2 separate regions of the Homo sapiens genome follow, and region 1 is linked to region 2. The links are contacts of gene promoters, found by promoter capture Hi-C in human tissues and cell types (Jung and others, 2019). All regions are on one chromosome and are shown on one strand. Each heading gives the region's core, a stretch centred on a gene start or on the middle of the fragment in contact. The rest is flanking DNA. Distances are from core to core; before and after follow the strand shown. Region 1 overlaps MACROH2A2 (macroH2A.2 histone). Region 2 holds the start of VPS26A (VPS26 retromer complex component A).

Region 1 (7,004 bases), core at 3,011-5,510, 970 kb before region 2:
TGCAGTGGCGTGATCTCGGCTCACTGCAAGCTCTGCCTCCCAGGTTCACGCCATTCTCCTGCCTCAGCCTCCTGAGTAGCTGGGACTACAGGCGCCCGCCACCATGCCCAGCTAATTTTTTGTATTTTTAGTAGAGACGGAGTTTCATCGTGTTAGCCAGGATGATCTTGATCTCCCGACCTCTTGATCCACCCGCCTCTGCCTCCCAAAGTGCTGGGATTACAGGCGTGAGCCACCGCGCCTGGCCCCCTCTCCTTTCTTTCTTTCCCTTACAGCTCATGCCTTTGGTTCCCAACCCTGGTGGCCTTAGTTTTCAGTGATGCATCTTCTGAGAAGCTCCTGCAAGGAAGCCCAGGGCTTGCTCTCTCTTCTCCCCTCAGCATCCTGCATTCTCCCTAGAAGAACACAAAATCTGTGGGGCAGGGCTCTGAAGCCAATAACCTTGCTGGAGAGAAGTAATGGGCTCTGGGATTCTGACCTGGGGGTGTCTGGCTCCCTTGCCCTTTGGAGACCACAGTCTTGGGGCTACCATTGGGAATTGCTATCCTATGTGTTCACAGTAGAGTGGAATGGAGGGCATTCTCTATTGTTGGCCCATGTGAGCAAGACCTTTATGTTGCCTTAGCTAAGTGAGAGAAAGCTAATCGTCATGTAACAGTGAACAGGCCAGAGAGGGGACATAAATTCCACCTCTTTGTTTCCCTGCTTTCATCAGTGACGAATTAGCAACCAGCCACACCGATGCTCTTCTTAGAACATACTCTTCCCAATTCTTTGAATGGAGGCTTACTGTGTTGTCAAGATGGAAACATTCAGCTACCAGAGATATGATTAACTGACTCTTTCCTTGGGTGTCTTATTTCAGCCCCAGTTGACTTGGTAGATAAATTGTCTGCTCAGTAAACTTTACACTTGTAGGAATGAATTATTTGCATGTCTGGTTGGGCTGCTGTTGTGTTGCTGAAGACTGTTCAAATGCATAGCCCTGTTTGTTTACTTTCTAAAGCCTAGGAAGGCAGGCAGACTGAATTATTGGCAAATAATTCATTTCTAATACCAAGGATATTTGGGAAACATATATTTCTATTTTCTTTCTTTGATAAATTACATTGAACCATGTAAGATGGGCCTCTCAGAAGCTGTCTGAGAAAGTTAGCTATGGATTTTTTTTTTGGCAGATGTAGAAATAACTGGGGTGTGGGGAATTCCCAGCAAAACCAGTAATGCCATCCTATCTACTGACCAGAAAGAGCTTCCATGCTCACCCTTGTCTGACCAATGTTAGCGTTAACAATTCTCAGCAAAAAAGAACAATTCTCACTCTCACAATGCTGACACTGCCACAGCTCTTTAGTTTAAAAATGAATAATTCAAGACTGCAGTGAAAATCATTATCAGGGGAGGAAAGGAGGCATCATTGCTTGTAAACAGTAGGTTATAAAAATACAGTGGTGTTTTAATATAGCACAAGGCAATTCTCTTTGTTACCTTCTGTCCCAGAACAAGGCTCTTAGAAGACAGAATGGTGAATCCATCCCCTGGCCCATCTTCAGAGGTGGAATTTGAAGTTCCTTCTTTATCGCTGTCCTTTGGTTTGGACTGTCGGTAAAAATCAAAAGGCAAGATGAGAACCAATCCAGAAAAAGCCTGAGGTGCCTTTATTAAGCTCTTCTCACGGCTGCCACCAAGTTGAATATGAAAGGAAGTGGTTAGGTGATGTGTTCTGCTGTTTCTTGAAGGAGGGGAGCAAAAGTCAGCAATATAAGGAAAGAAAAGGGTACCGCAAAATAGCAAAATAGAAAGTGTGTTAAAGGGCTCACACATACCTGCAGTCCTCACCTACCCCTGTGCACCAGCACATTGTCCTTGCTCATTTCAATGCCTGCAGCTCACGACGACAAGCATCGGAGCTGGGTGGGGCCGTTGATAGCCCATTGCTTAGCCTTCTTTCTCCCCAGGATTTCTCGGGGCACAGAGGCAGTGTGGAATGAAACATCCACAACTTCTACAGTAGGGTTGTCCAATAGAACTTTCTGTGATCGTGGAAATATTCATCTTGATCCTCAATAATGTTGCTGAGTGCTTGAAATGTGGCTGGTACAATCAAGGAGCTGAATTTTAAATTTGATTTAGTTTTAATTCAAATCCAAATAGCCTTGGCTTGTGTGCCTTAGCTCACACTTATAATTCCAATGCTTTGGGAGGCTGAGGCAGGAGGGTCGCTTGAGCCCAGGAGTTTGAGGCTACAGTGAGCTATGATCTCGCCACTGCATTACTGTACTCCAGCCTGGGTGACAGAGTGAGACCCCTGTCTCTTAAAAAAAAAAAGCCACATGTGACCAGTGGTTACTGTACTGGGCAACATAGGAAAACATTATTCTATCAGTGGCATCTCTGAGCTAAGCTACCTAGTATATCAAGCTAACCCAAACACCTAGTATATCAAGTATATGCCAAACACCTGAAATTCCACTGGCGGAACTCAGGGAATGCCTGCAGGAGACTAGAGGCTGTTTGGAAGGCAACACAGAGCTCTGCAGAGAAATAAAATGCAGGTTCCTGGCTATCATCGCTCACTTCAGATTTTGCTGGGGGTAGTAAAAGGGATCTGAAAACCATCCCTGCTTAGGGTTTGGAAACCTAGAGAAGACCCATTTCAGCTCTAACCTCAAAGGCCCTTTATTCTTTTACCTGTACATTCTTGTCATTTTCTTCCGGCACCAAGCTGCAAGAGTCCTCGGTCCTTCAGAGGTGTCTGCTACGAAGTCATTGTCTCATCTTTAAACTTCCCTCCTGTTCTGTGAGCGTCTTAGTGTCTGCCTGGGCTGCTCTAACAAAATGCTATAGACTGGCTGGCTCACAAACAACAGAAACCACTTTCTTTTTTTTTTGTTTGTTTAAGAGACAGGGTCTTGCGCTGTCACCGAGGCTCGAGTGCAGTGGTGCCATCATGGCTCACTGCAGCCTCTAACTCCTAGGCTCAAGCCATCCTCCTGCCTCGGCCTCCCAAAGTGTTGGGATTACAGGCATGAGCCACTGTGCCTGGCCCAGAAACTTGTTTCTCATAGTTCCGGAGGCAGGAAGTCCTTGGCGCAGGCAGGTTCTGTGTCTGGCAAGGGCTCACTTCCTGGTAGATGACGCTTTCTAGCTGTGTCCTCACATGGCAGAAGGGTCCCTCTGCCTCCCTCAGGCCTCTTTTATAAGGGGACTGTTCCCATTCGTGAGGACTCGCCCTCATGATCTAGTTATCTCTCAAAGCCCACACCTTGTAATCCTATGCCTCTGGGGTTAGGTTTCAACATATGAATTGTGGGGGAACACAGACATTCAGACCATTGCAGTGGGAGTGCCTGGCCCAGGACACGCAGCCTCGGCCTACCTTTTTGGACGTCCGTGGTTTGGCAGCCTTGGATTTCTTCCCCCCCTTCTTGCCTGACGTGGCCTTCCTGCCTCTTTTCTCTGGGGGTGGGGAGAGGATCGTTTCCGACTTGCCTTTGGTCCCTCGCTTTTTGGCCAGCAGTTCGGGGTGAATTCTGGGCAGGACGCCTCCACTGGCGATGGTCACTCCTTTTAGCAGCTGAAGAGAGAAATGCATGCGCTCATGTAGCAAACAGCCTGCTAGTTCCCAATTTCATACAGTTCTTTTTTTTTTTTTTTTTTGATACAGAATCTTACTCTGTCACCCAGGCTGGAGTGCAGTGGCGCGATCTTGGCTCACTGCAGCCTCCGCCTCCAGGTTCAAGCAATTCTCTTACCTCAGCCTCCTGAGCAGCTGGGATTACAGGCACCTGCCACCACCCCGGCTAATTTTTGTATTTTTAGTAGAGACAGGGTTTCACCACGTTGGCCAGGCTGGTCTCGAACGGCTGACCTCAGGTGATCCACCTGCCTTGGCCTCCCAAAGTGCTGGGATTACAGGCGTGGGCCACTGTGCCTGGCCTGGACTTAATACGGTTCTAACTGTTAAATGTGGCCTCCGCTTTCCTAAAGAAACTGCGTAATACACCATTTAATTGGCTTTTCCCACTTTCAGTTGTAGAGCATTTCTCCGTAGGTTAACAAGGCATCCTGTGATGTTGTACAGAAAGCAAAACGAAGTAAAGCAAAATAGAAGGGACACAGAAGTTGAAACCAGGGATGTTGCCCAGGGCTCTGGAATTCCAGACACAACACAGGATAAAAAGCTTCCCATGTGGGGAGCGCAGCTTGAGAAAATGATGTTCAAAGGTCATTGCAAAGACTAGACCCAGTTAATGATGAACCAGTGGTCTCCACAAGCTTGCACATACATTCCATCAGTAAAGTATGTCTGGCCATGCTCCTCCCAATCAATATAAGTTAATTTATCTGCAAAGAACAGACACGTACTACTCCACTAATATATTCTGCAGATTCGAAACCAACACTACCCCAAGCATGGTCTGCGACCATGGCTCACCCATGAACTGGTAGTTACCCGTCAGTGACAACAGAAGTATAGCAAGCATCTAGAAACTTTCACAGCAAACTGACAGTTATTGTATATCTGTTGAATCTGATAACAAAAAATTATGGCTTGTAGTTTGCTTTTTAATTTTTCTAGTGATTTTTATTACATTTCTGGAAATTATCAGTCCATGATGGATTGGCCATAAAAATGGCTTCTTCACTACAGTTTGAGAAGAGTGAGATTAGAAAATAAAGATAAATGAAAAGAAACAGAAATAAAAATTCTTATACTATTTACCTACCACCTTACATATACTGTAGGTGAAAAGGGGGTATTCGCTTGACTTTGGAGTCAGTTTCAGAATATAAACAGTCAGTTCTAAAATATAAAGAGTCTTCTGCCTTCATCAGAAAAAACTGTCAACTAAGTTTGGGTGAAGAAAGTGAAGAGAATAACATTTGTGCCACACCTTCCTCAGCAACACACAGAACTTGTCTTCAAAGAGAAAAGAAAGGTCTGATAAGACCTAGAATATATAATGAGATCTATGCCAGAGGCAATTTTATTTTGAATCTGAATGATAAGAGCTAGCAGAATTTGTTCTTTTATATGGCCTGAGTTTTTTTTGTATAAATGTAATTGGGAACTGTAGCAGGAGTGACTCATGGCCAGCCAGGCCCACACATTAGCATGTTTGGCAAACCCATTCTACGGCTTCCCTCAAGGCTTCAGACATACCTGGTTGAGCTCCTCGTCATTGGCAACTGCCAGCAAGATGTGTCTCGGGGCTATCCGGGCCTTCTTGTTGTCCCTCGCGGCATTGCCGGCCAATTCTAGAATTTCCGCTGAAATCACAAGGAGGCATTAACAGGCAATCACAGAATGGGGTCTGAGCTAAAGCTTTTCTTTAGAAATGGCCTTCAAGTTTGATCACATTCATTCATTTGTGATTTCTATGTCTCGGCCTGGAAAGAAATCCAGGAAGCGTAAGAGAACTCAAGTTAGTCCCAGCTACTCAGGAGGCCGAGGCAGGAGGATCGCTTGAGCCCAGCCAGGAGTTCAAGGCTGCAGTGAGCTATGATTGTGCCACTGCACCCCAGCCTGGGCAACAGAGTGAGACCCTGTCTCTAAAAAAAAAATTTAAAAAAATTAAAAAATTTAAAAAAAGAAAAAATAAGTCAGGTCACAGAGAAGTAAGCTATTTTAGCAAGATGTTATCCGATCCTGTGGCAAAGCCTCCTGGTTGTCCCTCAGCATCAGTTCTCCCTCTTCCTCTTCTTCCTTGGTACAGGACTTCTGATTTTTTTTGCCAAGCCCATAACTGCAGGAAAACTATATTTCCCTTGATAAGTGTGGTTCTGTGACCAATATTTGGCCAAAGAAGGCAAGCCATTGTGTTTTCTGGTCCTTCTGGGAAGTGTCCATCAATGAAGGGGCTGTGCCCTTCTTTCCTTTCTAATGGTGGGCTGAGGACACGATGGCTGGAATTTGGGCAGCCATCTTTGACCAAGAAGAAGAAGTTGTGCATGCTAGAGCAAGAGCACAGAAGGAAACTGAGTCTCTACCAATCTAGACTGTCTTTTCTAGACTTCTTTTGTATGAGAGTGAAATAAACTCTCTTGTTGAAGCCACTGTCTATAGAAGTGAATCCTGACCAATACAGAATCCTGCTATAGAACCTAAATTCCTCTCAGTCTGTGGGGCACAGGGCCATCTCTGAAGAGAATAGTGATGTAGGTAAAGTCTGTTCTGGGTGCCCACTTGGACTTCTCTTAGACTGTCTTTTTCTTTTTTGTTGAGACGGAGTCTTGCTCGTTCTGTTGCCCAGGCTGGAGTGCAGTGGCATGATCTTGGCTCACTGCAACCTCCGCCTCCTGGGTTCAAGCAATTCTCCTGCCTCAGCCTCCTGAGTAGCTGGGATTACAGGCGCACACCACCACACCTGGCTAATTTTTGTATTTTTAGTAGAGATGAGGTTTCACCATGTTGGCCAGGCTGGACTCGAACTCCTGACCTCAGGTGATCCACCCGCCTGGGCCTCCCAAAGTGCTGGGATTACAGGCCTGAGCCACTGCGCCTGGTTGACTCTCCTTTTCCTCTTTGCTCAATGCCCTAGGTCCTCCCTGTCCTAAAAGAAAAGTGGATGGAAGGACTGACTTACACTCTGGGATGAGGAAATGGTTAACCCGAAAAGTGAATTCCTAAAGGGAATGCCAGGAGACCTGCGTAGGAAAGCACATAGAGCCTGGGGGTCTTCCACATACTTCCCAAAACTTTAGCATGGCTGACTTTAACAAACACGCCACTTGGCCAATGTGAAAACATTGATAAGAAGAAATTTTCCTAAAGCTATTTCCCATGCTATTAAAACCTTGGGGTAAAAAAAGAAATCTGTAGAATTGGTTTCTACTATCTATATGCTTTCCCCCTTCCTCTTCTGTTTTATTTCGTTATTTTTCTTTCTTCCTCAATTTTAGAAGGATGTTCTGCTAAATCAAATTTGCCTTCCAAAGTATGAATGAGCCTTTAAAGAAAAATTCCTTCCCTTAGAAAGCTAGAAGGAATGTGCCAATGT
Region 2 (6,556 bases), core at 2,855-5,354:
CCAGCCTGGGCGACAGAGTGAGATTCTGCCTCAAAAAAAAAAAAAAAAAAATCAAATCCCAAAGTTAAATAAAATTTTGATAGAACTAAAATTGCCACCAATTAAAATGGTATAAACCAAGTTCATTTTATAAAATTTCACAATTAACACCATAATGATAAACAGTGTTTTGACACCATTCCTTAAATATTTAAATTCCTAACCATTAAAAATATGTGAAAAACTACGTGCTATCCTCTATTATTTTCTGGATGCAAGAAATATTTCATAATTTTAAAAAAAGTAGCAGAACACAGTGGCTCACACCTGTAATCCTAGCACTTTGGGAAGCTGAAGCAGGAGGATCACTTGAGCCCAGAAGTTCAAGACCAGCTTCGTCAATACAGCTAGACCCCCATATCTACAAAAATTTAAAAAATTAGCCCAGCATAGTGGTGTGTGCCTGCAGTCCCAGCTACTTGGGAGGCTGAACCCAGGAGGTCGAGGCTGCAGTAAGCCACTGACTGGGCGGCAGAGCAAGAGCTTGTCTCAAAAAAAAAAAAAAAAAAAAAAAAGATATTTTTAAATACAATCAAAACACTAAAATTGGAAGCAATCAAATGGCATTTTTAAAAAGCCTAGTATAGCATATGCAAAAAAGTAATAGGTTGAGTAATAAATTACTGCACTTTAACCAGTTATTCCATGACAATATGGCATTGGGTTAACATTCAGGTTTTTTTTTTTTTTGAGATGGAGTCTCGCTCTTTCGCCCAGGCCGGAGTGCAGTGGCGCTAGCTCGGCTCACTGCAAGCTCCGCCTCCCGGGTTCATGCCATTCTCCTGCCTCAGCCTCCCGAGTAGCTGGGACTACAGGTGCCCGCCACCGCGCCTGGCTAATTTTTCGTATTTTTAGTGGAGACGGGGTTTCACCGTGTTAGCCAGGATGCTCTTGATCTCCTGACCTCGTGATCCGCCCGCCTCGGCCTCCCAAAGTGCACCACGCCCGACCAACATTCAGTTTTTTTACATTAGGGCATATCGAAAATGAACTAGTCAGCCAGGCACAGTGGCTCACACCTGTAATCCCAACACTTTGGGAGGACAAGGCGGGCGGATCACTTGAGGTCAGGAGTTTGAGACCAGTCTGGCCAACATGGCGAAACCCCGTCTCCACTAAAAATACAAAAAAAAAAAAAAAAAAAAAAAATTGGCCGGGTGTGGTGGCGCATTCCTGTAGTCCCAGCTACTCAGGAGGCGGAAGTTGCAGTGAGCCAAGATCGCGCCACTGCACTCCAGCCTGGGCGACAGAGCGAGACTCCGTCTCAAAAAATAATAATAATAATAAAAGAACTAGTCTTACTAAAAAACACCTCCAGAAAATTGTGGATATCTTACATTTTACAGGTAGAGAACAAAAAGAAAAAAATAACTGAGGAAAAAAGCTTGTCTTTTAGAAAGAACTGAAAGAGAAAGATCTCTACCCAAAGTCTCTCTTTCAAAGTTTTTTCTAAGATGTGCAACTTCTGTCATTTGAAATAAAGGGTAATGAAATTAAATTCTTTTTCTAATTATTCTAAATAAAATTCTAATACTTCTGATATGTTAAAGAGGAAGTAAAATACACAACTGTCAAGCTGGTAAAGACTAGAAGGAAAGAGAATAAAATTTGTTGAGGGTTAGGATATGATGCAGACAGCAATTCAGTTTTGAGATTTTTTTTTTTTTTTTTTTTTTTGAGACGGAGTCTCACTCTGTCGCCAGGCTGGAGTACAGCAGCGCGATCTCGGCTCACTGCAACCTCTGCCTCCCGGGTTCAATTGATTCTCCTGCCTCAGCCTCCTGAGTAGCTGGGATTACAGGTGTGCGCCACACCTAATTTTTTTATTTTTAGTTGAGACGGAGTTTCACCATGTTGGTCAGGCAACTTCCGCCTCCCGAGTAGGTGGGACTACAGCAATGCGCCACCACACTTGGCCAATTTTTTTTTGTTTTTGTATTTTTAGTGAAGACGGGGTTTCGCCATGTTGGCCAGGCTGGTCTCAAACTCCCGACTTCAAGGTGATCCGCCCACCTCGGCCTCCCAAATTGTTGGGATTACAGGTGTGAGCCACCGCACCCCGTGAGATCTTTTAAGTGCAAAAATACTACTCACTTCTTTTGGTAAAGATATCTTCAAGGGCGCATTTGGAATATTGCGATTTTCAGGATTAACTATTAATATGCAAGTTAAAACTCTTGAGCTTTTAAATAACTGGACTGCAATATATATGACTATAAAAACATGCTAGCAATTGTTTTTATAGTTTTCTAATCTTGGCCTAAACCTCCTATCACTGACTTTAGGTTAATTTAGGATTTTTCATATAATTTCTGAACCCAATATTGAGCATTACCAATTAGCAAAAATACATGGTAGATACATAAAAAGGCAACTTTTTAGTCCCCACTGAAGGAATTTCACTAAGTCCAGTGGATGTAAAGAAATGCAACTCATTGCATTTCTGAGGTGGAAGGCTGACTCTCAAAATTCATTCACTTAGCCCATACACAAGCAATGAAACAGCAAATTTTCATACATATATTACATCTGTGACCATTTCAGTGTTTTAAAGTTTTACAATTTAGTTTCTGTTTGGGTAACTTGAAAATATAAACTGCTCTTGAACATAATTCAAAAAAGCGTATTAAAAGTAATAATTACAAATGTAAGCAAAAAATAGGAGGACCTTTTAAGTTTTCTTTTCAAATGATATTCAATTAAAGAAGCCTGCCCTAACACTGACTAGGCAAGGTCCCCCAATACTTCCTTCTTAGTATCTGTCACAATTCTAATTTCCACGTTAAACAAATAATTTACACAAATAAATGTTTATCTCTCCCTACATTGTAAGCTACGAGAGCAGGTAGGCGCTGTTTCCATTTTACTGGGGTCCCCTAGGCACACCTGAGCAATTATTTGTTGAATGAAAGAAAAAAAGCTCTAAGAATGAACATGAATGTCTGGATTTTGTTTTGTTTTGTTTTGAAAGCAACATCATTACTGAAATTAAAAGTTATTTATTCAAAGTAGCTTTTTAAAAATATACCTGGCTCGGCCTTTTAAGCCAAAAGTCTCAAGCAGTCTATTGAATCAGTGAGCTTTGGGAAGAGCAGGTAGTATTAGGAGAGCATACAGTAGGCGCTAAATGAAGAGAACTGACGACTACTACCAGAAAATGGGTAAAATGAGATCTAACCTAGAGACTGCCGACACCCAGCTAAATACCACAATGCCCAGGCTAGTGCTTCCGCGGACTGTGGTGAGAGCACTGATTCCCCTCCCTCCTCTGCCTCATAGGCCGTTTCAACAACCCAGAGCGTTAAGTTCAGCGAAATAGCTTGCGGACGGAAATGAGAGCCAATGCTTAAAACGGCGGGCACCAAACGGGTGTCTCTGGAGTTAAAGATATCCCCCATTCCAACGTCCTTTTATTTTTCTCTCCCATTTTACAAGTGTCAACAGAAAGCCTGAACTGGGGTCATGAAATCAAAGAATGTCACCATAGTCAGGTTTTAAAATATCAGAGTTTATCAAGTTCGTGACACACTGAGTGCCCAAGTCCCCCGAAGAGTCCGGAGGTGGGGGGCTCCCGGGTCGCCCCACCTGGATGGAAGAGAGGCTGCCCGGGAGGAGAACAGGGACTGGCTACCTAGGAAGGGGAGGCGGCGACCAGCCCCCGCAGAGGCGGGGTCCGAGTCCCCAGCCAGAGCCCCAACAAGCAGTCGAAGAACGCGGGCAGAGGCTCCGACATGGCCAGGAGAGCACGCCGCCGCCCGTAGGTGCTCGGGCCTCGCCGAGACCGGGAAGAGGTGGCGCCGCCAGCTTTTCCCAGACCCAGGGGTGGCCCGACAGGCCTAACCCCGCTCCCCGCCCTGCTCCCCCGTCCCCTCCTCCGGCGACGCCCGGCCCGCGGTTGGCCGGCCCGCCGCGCGCTCCGGGACGAGGGCGGGAGGCGAGCGCGCTGGCCGCCGCGCACTCACCATTGTCAACGCCGCCGCCGCGTCCCCCCTACTCCACTCCTCTTCCCTCAGGAGAACTCCCAGCCCCGGCTCCCTCCGCTCCGGCGCTCCGTCACGTGACCTCGGGCCGCCCCTCACACGTGACCGCTCCCTTCCTCTCCCCCACCCCCGCACCCGTCCCTCTCCCAGCCTCCTGCCCCGCCCTGCTGGCCGCCAGGCACTCCGGGGAGAGGCCGCTTGGAGGCGGGGCCTCAGGCTCCACCCTTCGGAGGGTGGAGAGGGGCGGGCAAATTACGTCGAGTGGGCGGGGCCTGAACAGAGGCGGGTTCGCGGGCTCCTCCTCGCCGTCTCTTCGGTCACCGGACGAGCGGTTCCGTGTCCGGCCTCTTTACCGCACCCAGTTCCTCTTTGTGAAAGTTTGAGCGGCTGGGAAGGAAGGAGGAGAGGAAGGATTCATCTGGAGGCTCTCTCCTTGGCTGGGTCCTTGGGTTGCCGAGGCGAGTGGGAGCCCTACTTCCTTAGGCCTCGCAAGAAGAGATGTGCTCTCTTCGTCCACGGCGAGGCGTTCTGCCACCTTGCCTGAACGCAGTCCCGCTCCACCTCCTTCTGAGTCTGGGTTTTCTTAACTTGGCTTTCTCGCCTCTGAAGAGAAGACCAGTAGAAAAAAATCCTAGGGTACAACTTTCATTGCTTCCCAAAGTCCCCAGATGGCCCCTGAGCGACCCACCCTGAGCCTGGAGGGCTCACAAACCCACCGTTCCGCCCAGCCGTTCTGAGAGGGCAAAGGCGCTCCCCCGAAAGTCCCACGGCGCAGCTGAAGACTACGCTGGCCTGAACTGGATCCTCCTCCCTAGTGTAAGCCTATAGGACCTCCAGATGAGGAAAATACTGTGTGGGATTTCAGAGTATAGTGTTGAAGGGCCACAGTGCACTCTATGCATAACCAAAGCAGAAGAAAAATCCATCCCTGAACGCACTATAATTACCCCACCTTAAAACAGAAGTTTGTGAGGCGAGTCCATGAAACAGGTATCAAAAAAAATTTTTTTATACTTAATCCTCAGTGTGAGCCTCAAATTTAAGAGGATTGAAATCAGAGTATCATCTCTAACCGCAATAGAATTAAAATTAGAAATCAACCCAAACAAGCCAGAAAATTCCGGAAATATTGGAAATTAAGCAACATAATTCCAAATCTCTAGGTCAAAGAAGAGATCAATGGAAATTTAAAAATAAGTTGAGGCCGGGCACGGAGGCTCACACTTGTAATCCCAACACTTTGGGAGGCCAAGGCAGGTGGATCACCTGAGGTCAGACACGAGTATCTCTTGAATCCGGGAAGCGGAGGTTGCAGTGCCCGAGATGGAGCCACTGCACTCCAGCCTGGGCGACAGAGCAAGACTCTGTCTCAAAAATAAAAAATAATAAAAATAAAATAATTTGAAATAAAAGATAATAATACAACATATCAAATTTGTGGAATGCAGTGACACTGTGTAAAAGGAAAATTTGTAGCTTTAAATGCACATATTTGGGCCAGGCATGGTGGCTCACAGTCTATAATTCCAGCACTTTGAGAGGCCGAGGCGGACGGATCACTTGAGGTCAGAAGTTTGAGACCAGCCTGGCCAACATGGCGAAACCCCGTCTCTACTAAAAATACAAAAATCAGCGGGGCATGGTGGTGCACGTCTGTAATCCTAGCTACTCGGTAGGCTGAGGCAGGAGGATCACTTAAACCTAGGAGGCAGAGATTGCAGTGAGCCAAGATTGCGCCACTGCACTCCAGCCTGGTGACAGAGCGAGACTCCATCTCAAAAAAAATAAATAACTATAGTAACACTGATATTGTTGTCTGTTTGAACTGTGAAAAGAAAGCAGCAAAAACAATGCAAATCTTTAATTAATAAAAGTGAAAAATGGTTTTTTTCACTTAGAAGATTTGCCTGTCACCTTGAGAGCTACTCTGGTTCCTACCCACTCTTTTCTGGGACTTAAATATCAACATAACAAAGAGAATAGATGAAAATGCCACACAGGCAAAGAAATACTAGCGAAGCCAGGTATAAATAAGAGGTGGCAAAGAAAGTCACACTAGAAACCAATTTGTACTAATTATTTATTCTACTGATCAAAACCCAATCAATAATTGTGCTATCATAATAAATACAAGAAGCAACAGAATTGTTGAGCTAGTTATTTGTCTGTCTGCCTACCTATCAATCTATTCAGCAAGCCAGAATGTTAGAGCTAGATTGTGAGCAGTACAGTGTTTCACCAGCTGAGAACTGTGGCATCTCTATATTTGCCCTCTGCCAAAAAAAAAAAAAAAAAAAAGGTGGGGTGTGTGAGGAAAATGTGACTAACTTACAGGGATTGACTTTCATCAACAAAAGTACCGAGTTTAGGTCAGAAAGTATTAGATGATAAGATAATCTGAGCTTTTATCAATCAGAAACCAGTTAAGAGAAAAATAGTCATTTGTTCAAATTCACAAAGACTAAAAATTCACATTAATAACTGTGAGAGTGTCAGGGAGCAGCTGTTTGCAGAGTTCACTGGCAAAGTTAAGGGAA

The links. Contacts are between HindIII fragments. The study calls those that stand out against the background at their distance.
Region 1: a contact is called between a fragment that was not itself captured here and the fragment with the promoter of VPS26A in region 2, in 1 of the 25 tissues and cell types used here (heart right ventricle).

Annotation. Positions count from the first base shown.
Region 1 is chr10:70,088,330-70,095,333 of GRCh38, reverse strand. MACROH2A2 (macroH2A.2 histone) reads right to left here. Exons shown (of 9, transcript NM_018649.3): 3 at 5,168-5,274; 4 at 3,380-3,577; 5 at 1,489-1,599. Among named protein-coding and RNA genes, the nearest start is that of MACROH2A2, 39 kb to the right of the region's middle. RefSeq lists a cis regulatory region at 4,218-4,231 and an enhancer at 4,152-4,296. The HindIII fragment of the contact is 5,418 bases long and covers 1,552-6,969 here.
Region 2 is chr10:69,121,726-69,128,281 of GRCh38, reverse strand. VPS26A (VPS26 retromer complex component A) reads right to left here and starts at 4,104. Exons shown (of 9, transcript NM_004896.5): 1 at 4,002-4,104. The coding sequence starts at 4,004. RefSeq lists enhancers at 3,140-3,646, 4,511-4,870 and a silencer at 3,851-4,250. The HindIII fragment of the contact is 17,457 bases long and covers 1-6,556 here.